2 separate regions of the Homo sapiens genome follow, and region 1 is linked to region 2. Evidence: promoter capture Hi-C in human tissues and cell types (Jung and others, 2019). All regions are on one chromosome and are shown on one strand. Each heading gives the region's core, a stretch centred on a gene start or on the middle of the fragment in contact. The rest is flanking DNA. Distances are from core to core; before and after follow the strand shown.

Region 1 (3,334 bases), core at 5-2,504, 150 kb before region 2:
AGGTTGCCCAGGCTGGTCTTGAACTCCTGGGCTCAAGTGATCCACCTTCCTCATTCTCTGAAAGTGCTGGGATTACAGGCATGAGCCATTACACCTGGCATGTCATGCTTCTTAGGGAACTCACATACAGAACACTAATTCAGTGAAAATGCATTCCCTCCCTGCTTTTTGTTCTAAGACAGACTGAGTGAAAGATTTCTGAAGAGTTCTACCTTAGCAGCTCTGCAATCCCCTTAGAAAGGCTGCTTGAGGAGAAGTAGGAGATGGAACAGATACTCTATACCCTGTGAGATAAGAATTGCACCAGAGGGAGAAATGCAACTCAGGGGCAAAAAATGCTTTTACATGTTACTCTGAACTAGCAATTTGGGAAACTTCATTCACTGATAAGAGGACACAGCCTTCTAGGCTGTCTGGCTTTTCAAGGACATGTCAAATTAGTTGAGTGATTATCGATAGAGTATGCCTCTTGTCCCTTGGTTTGCTGAGTCTGGCCTCTGCCATGTGTGCTGTGCTGCTGCCAGCAGCCAGGTGCACAAGGGCACAAGTGCTGGGCCACCTGCTGAATGCACAAGACATGCCCTGCTGCTGACAACCTTTGGATTCTCAGGGAGGGAAGGCCTGGCCACAATGGGCCACGGGTGCCTCCTGGAACAACTGGTTGAAAGCGGAAAAAGAGAATATGAAGATGAGATTAATGAGTGAATGAGGATGAAGTTCTTACCCGGTGGTGGGATGCCCGGGAGGCCAGGCACACCTGGCGGAAGATGGTGGGGTGGAGGCCCCCCAGGGTGAAGTGGCTGCATGCTGCCCATGCTAACAAGGCCATCAACTGGGCCCTGCAAAGGTGGAAGGCCTGGCGGATAGCCACCCATCATGCCTTGAAGGACACAACAAATTTCAGACATGCATCATTAACATGCAACATGAGCTAAGTAATAACAACCAACCCCCACATGCACTACCAATGAATAAAGCACCCTTAGTACTGCATGATATAACAGCAATTAGTGCAATTATTTTGCTGCAATAATGAACAAAATAAAAAGTTACAAATATGAGACCCAACATTTTGGGATGAATTAGTACTTAGTACACTATTATTTGTAGTTATTTTCCCTGGGGTAAATATGCTGCATGTTTTCAGTTAAATAATAGTAAAGAGTTCTAGTAACAGCCTTCCCAAGGAAATAATTATTGCAAGCTGTTCAAACAGAGTGACCAGTTCTGCTGACTGCAATTCTAACTGAATAGTATAAACCCCATCATTCCACTCTGCCCACACTCATATGCCTATCATGGGTACACATGAGGGGAAATAGGAAGGGAGGGAAATGAGCGCATAGTCCTGATCACAAAGCATGGTTCTCCAGCTTTGGGGCAGGAATTGTTCAAGACTTCTACATCTACTCCTCCTTTCTAGCCTTACCACTGCTGGTAAGAATGGATTGTGCTTGGGCTTGAGTTGGGGAACAGCTTCTAAGAACCATCACAGTGAATGATATTTCCTTCTTTAGATCTAAAAATGTGATAAAGATAAAACCTAAACACTCCCAACCAAGCCAACCAAGTCCAGGTCACTCAGGAGCCTACACACAGACTTTACGGAGGAATGGCTGGAGAATTGGGCTCTGCTGATATGAGAAAATGCCAAATGCCATCAGTCTCCAAGCTCAAATGTCCTCATATAAACCTTAACAGGGAGCATTTTAATTTGAGGTACACAATTTCTGTGAACAGAGGCTTTTATTCCTTTATTTTCAAAGTGTACCTACACATGACAAAATATTTTCTACTGGCTAGAGAAGAGTTTCAGCAAACAAGTATTTTTGGCAGAAGGAATAAATGTAAGAAAAAAAATTCAAAATGTCAAGGACTCACCTATCAAAAGACCTTTAAAACCACATGGCATTTTTTTAAAACAAGAAAAACAACTTGACTTTTCTGGGATTTGTAATGATCATGATGAATAAGAACACAAAGCTCCCCCCAAAATGCAGTCACCTTTGGTCACAGCTTCTTGCAAAGGGAGGGTTGAGGGACTGGTGCCAAACCTCATTTTTATAAAATACTCTTTGCAGAGGGACTCTGTCAAATAGTGGAAAACTTCAGATTCTGAGAATTTTACTCTTGGACTTTCCCTGAAGATTTCAAACATATTTATTTATAAAAGTTTAGTCTTTTAAGGCTATGAAATTACTAAAAATTCTGAGGTCGATTCACCCTGCTTCACTAGTCATACCTAAGCTGACTAACTTACAATTACATAAACCGAATGACAAAAATTTGAATAATAATCTCTCTATACATAAGATTATGAGTTTTCATTTTTTTTTAAATGAAGAGTTCAGAAAGTAAAAACTACTTTTGAACAGACACCATCATCTTAATTAAACATGAAGAGATCCAATGCTACCAATCTTTTAACCACACCACCAGTTATAGCATTTAGGGTTAAGTAGGCGGGAAATTTAAGGATGTTAAGAGGCTTTGCTTTCAATTACAAAAGCCCATCTGAACGCAGCCTTCATGGGCTGTGGTTGAGGAAATTATTAAGAACTGAAAGACATGACACTTGTCTTCATTAAACTGTACTTTGGCATTTATTATCCCAGTCACATGTGTTCAAATGAGCTTCAATGCTTGTAAGCAAAGCTGGTCTCAAGACAGCAACAAGGCTAATAAGTAAGACTCAGGCCCTAAGAAACCTGTAAAACCATGAAAAATCACCCTCTTAGCTGCAGGGTTCCCCATGAGGACCAAAGAGTGGTTACTGCAGAGAATGCTTGCTTTTCACTCCCAGGGCCCAGAAGTCTAGCCAGCACACCCTAAATAATGGAGCAGGGGCTTTCTAGAGGGACCACCTTCCTCATCCATAGAGTTCTATAATGTTCTTCCCCAACAGGGAGCTAAAATGCTGCAGCTGCTGTTTTTTTTTTTTTTTTAATTGTTTTTAGCTGTTTGTATTCATTTTGTTAATGTGCCCCTGGGTTTTGAAGTCAAGGGCACAGTGCCACAACGTCACACATCAAATAGAACAAAACACAATGTCAACGAGGGAATTCTAACTTTCAAAGTCCCCATGTTCAAGGCCTGATTTCTAAAAACCTCTGGAACCCCATTAACCAAAATGGGCCATGGAATAGAGCAGGCGATTATGAGATTTGTTAGATCAACATCAGTTACACTGAAAGCACTGAAAGCCATGATTCAGATGTGCTTTGGCGAGTGCAACTGCTGAGTTCAGCGACAGTGCATTTGAGAACTTGCCATCACAAAAGTTAGGAGCGACAATGGAAAAGTTATCCTATGCTACTCTTCCTTAAAAAGCAAA
Region 2 (3,276 bases), core at 539-3,038:
GTATCAGTCGGGGATTGGCTCCAGGACTCCCCATGTATACAAAAATTCACGGATGCTCAAGTCCCTTATGTAAAATGGCATATTACAGTCAGCCCTCTGTATCTGTAATTTCAGTCCGTGGTTGGTTGAATCCAAGGATACAAAACTGTGGATACAAAAAAAAAAGACCGCACTGGCCGGGCGCGGTGGCTCATGCCTGTAATCCCAGCACTTTGGAAGGCCGAGGTGGGTGGATCACTTGAGGTCAGGCGTTTGAGACTAGTCTGGCCAACACAGTGAAACCCCGTCTCCACTAAAATCACAAAAATTAGCCGGGCGTGGTGGCGCATGCCTGTAATCCCAGCTACTCAGAAGGCTGAGGCAGGACAATCCCTTGAACCCAGGAGGCGGAGGTTGCAGTGAGCCGCGATCGCACCACTGCACTCCAGCCTGGGCAACAGAGCGAGTCTTCGCCTCAAAAAAAAAAAAAAAAAAAAAAAAAGACCACACAGAGATATATCTATTTATACACACAACAGAAAGTCTCTTCAAACACACCAAGAAATACAGAGCATGAGAAGGAAACAGGAATAAACTCTTGCCCATCCCTCTTTCTGCCTTCTACACGTCCTGAGTCCTTCTGAGGTCAGAAAAGTGTCAAACGTGTCTGCATTTTACTGTTTGGTCTCTGCCACGTGCAAGGATGAAAGGGCACTGAGGATATACAAACACTTTCTCCTACCCTTTCATCTGGCTGGCTCCCACTTGGCATTCAAAGGTCAAGGTAGCCTCCTCCAAACTCCACGTTGAGCTGCACCTCCCCTGAGCTCCCACATCTGGGCCTCCCTCTCCCAGGGCTAATCCAGCTGTCATGTATTTCTGGCGTGATGTGGCTGTCTCCCTTGACACGCTCTGGGCTCTTCCAAGGCAACAGCCTGGTCTTGGTAACAACCGTGTCCTCGGTCTGCTGTCTGGCACAAACAAGGTGCCGTGAATATTTGCTGGTTGCATGAATGAGGACAGCAGTCCCACCCTGTCCCGGGAGTGCCTAGAATTCCACTGTTTGTGGCCAACCCAGAATACATAACCTGGGGGCCGGAGAGCCAGCTGGGACCCAGAGGCCCGGGTTCCTCAGAACGGTTTCTCTCCAAAACGTGGGCATCCCACCTGGCTGACGGTAACGGAGGAGGGTCTAAGATTTAGAGATACACCAGCCTTGAAAGAGAGGCTGAGTGAACCTTTGGCTGGCCTCTATCGGGAGGGCCCAGCCTGGGTCTGTGAGGGTCAGTAAAGCCGGCCACAATGTGAGAGGGCTGAGTTCGGGAGCCCCCAGATGAGGGACTTTCTACGCGGATGAGAGGGACAGCCGAGCACCAGGGTCCCCTCTCCAAGGGAATTCTCTCTGTTGTGGATGCCGCCTAGGGTAGCCCCCCTAAATTCCAAGGGTCAGTAGGGCCCCCCTTACACTTTGAAGTGATCGGAAAGTGATGTGACGCTCCGGGGATCCCACCAGGCTCAGAGATACCCCTGGTTAGGGCTCCGACAAGTCGTTCCCCTCAAAGGCTCGCCGCGGCCGCCCTTACTGCAGGCGATGGAGGAGATGCGGATGCAGCCCGCGCCCCGACCCGCCCTGCCAGCTCAGCGCCCGCGCCGCAGGCCCCGGAGCCCAGCCCGTTGTCTGGCCGCCCGCGTTCCCTGCACGCTGGGCCGAGCACACTTGCCCTCTAGCTCCGTGGCAGCCGCGCAGCCCCACTACGCCCAGCCAGCCCGCAGCGGTAACCGCTAGAGCGTCGCGCCAAGCAGGCGCCGCGGGGCAGCCCTGCCGCCGGGGTCCTCGCAGGGAAAAAGGCCGTCGCCATGGAGACGCGGGGGCGCCGGCGGCCGTTGGGCCGCGCAAGTACTGTCAAGGACAGTTTTCGGGACGGGGGACGCGGCTCCAGGCACCCAACAGCACTGACGGCGAACACTTCACGGGCGCGCGATGCCTCGACAAGGCGGCCGCCACCACCACCTCAGCTGCCCTCGCGGGCAGCACGGCGCGGCAAAAGCGCACGTCGCCTAGCGATGGCGCGGGGCGGGGACACGGGCTGTACCGGCCCGTCGGAGACTTCCGCTTCCGGGGCCGCCGCCATCGCTCTCCCGGGCTTAGAAGGCCCGGCTACTGACGCGCAGTGCCAGACCTTACCCCTCACGGTCCTTAAGTCTCGGTCGCCCTCGCCTCGCAGCCTGCCACCCGCGCTCAGCTGCCCGCCTCCTCAGCCAGCCATGCTGGAGCATCTGAGCTCGCTGCCCACGCAGATGGTGAGGGCGCAACCCGGGGACCTCTGCACGCCGTTCTTGTGCCTGGCAGCTTCGAAGCCCATGTTGGAGCACCGACCCGGTGCTGCGCTGTTCCGGGCCCGGATGGTTACCGTCCACCCTCTTTCCCGAATTGCCTCCTGGGTCCCCTTCTCTTCTACTCCGCGAGAATCTCCTGTCCATTCTCCGTGAGGGTGTTTCAGTTCCTCCCGGGAAGCCCAGAATTTAATATCTTGCCCAGGCCCTTAGGAGAGCGGGAGACCCTGATGTTGGGGTTACCCTGTGCCAGAGTTGTGAGGTCAGGGCAGGAATTGTATGTTCTCGGCGGTGGAACCAATTCTTTTTTTCCTCTGCTTCACCCCAGGATTACAAGGGCCAGAAGCTAGCTGAACAGATGTTTCAGGGAATTATTCTTTTTTCTGCAGTAAGTATTGGTTTTACATTTAATCTCCGCCCCCGCCTCCCTCCCAACCCTCAGTTTGAGTGTGTTTAATATACTTCATTTGTCTCTAGATAGTTGGATTTATCTACGGGTACGTGGCTGAACAGTTCGGGTGGACTGTCTATATAGTTATGGCCGGATTTGCTTTTTCATGTTTGGTAAGAAATTTGTGGGTATTAGTGGCAGCTTGGGTTTTGTGAGTCGGGTTGGTTTGGTTAGACCTACTCAGTAGTGAGACCCAAAGCCAACGTTTCCCTCATCCTTCCAAACAGCGTTTCCCTTTGCTATCATTGGAAAAGTAGAATGCCAAAATAGTGTCAGATGGTGCGAACTATATAAAAGGACACAGCTTATTTCCTTTGGCGGCTACTCTGGCTAATAATCTTAAGGTCAAAGCCAGCAGGAGTTTTCATGGTGCTCACGTTGTCCCTTCACCTTTTATTTATTTATTTATTTAAATTTTTTGAGACGGAGTTTCACTCTTGTTGCCCAGGCTGCAGTGCACTGGGGCGATTTCGGCTCACTGCACCTTCTGCCTCCCGGGTTTAATAGATTTT

The links. The method cuts DNA at HindIII sites, captures the fragments that hold promoters and counts their contacts. A contact is called where the count stands out against the background at its distance.
Region 1: a fragment that was not itself captured here is called in contact with the fragment with the promoter of GLT8D1 in region 2 in 1 of the 25 tissues and cell types used here (mesendoderm cells).

Annotation. Positions count from the first base shown.
Region 1 is chr3:52,554,000-52,557,333 of GRCh38, forward strand. It overlaps PBRM1 (polybromo 1), which reads right to left. Exons shown (of 32, transcript NM_001405607.1): 29 at 725-880. Among named protein-coding and RNA genes, the nearest start is that of UQCC5, 19 kb to the left of the region's middle. The HindIII fragment of the contact is 6,956 bases long and covers 1-3,334 here.
Region 2 is chr3:52,704,003-52,707,278 of GRCh38, forward strand. It overlaps GLT8D1 (glycosyltransferase 8 domain containing 1), which reads right to left and starts at 1,789. Exons shown (of 10, transcript NM_018446.4): 1 at 1,445-1,789. It overlaps SPCS1 (signal peptidase complex subunit 1), which reads left to right and starts at 2,104. Exons shown (of 4, transcript NM_014041.5): 1 at 2,104-2,280; 2 at 2,642-2,701; 3 at 2,791-2,877. The coding sequence starts at 2,245. RefSeq lists a silencer at 1,516-1,685. The HindIII fragment of the contact is 20,736 bases long and covers 1-3,276 here.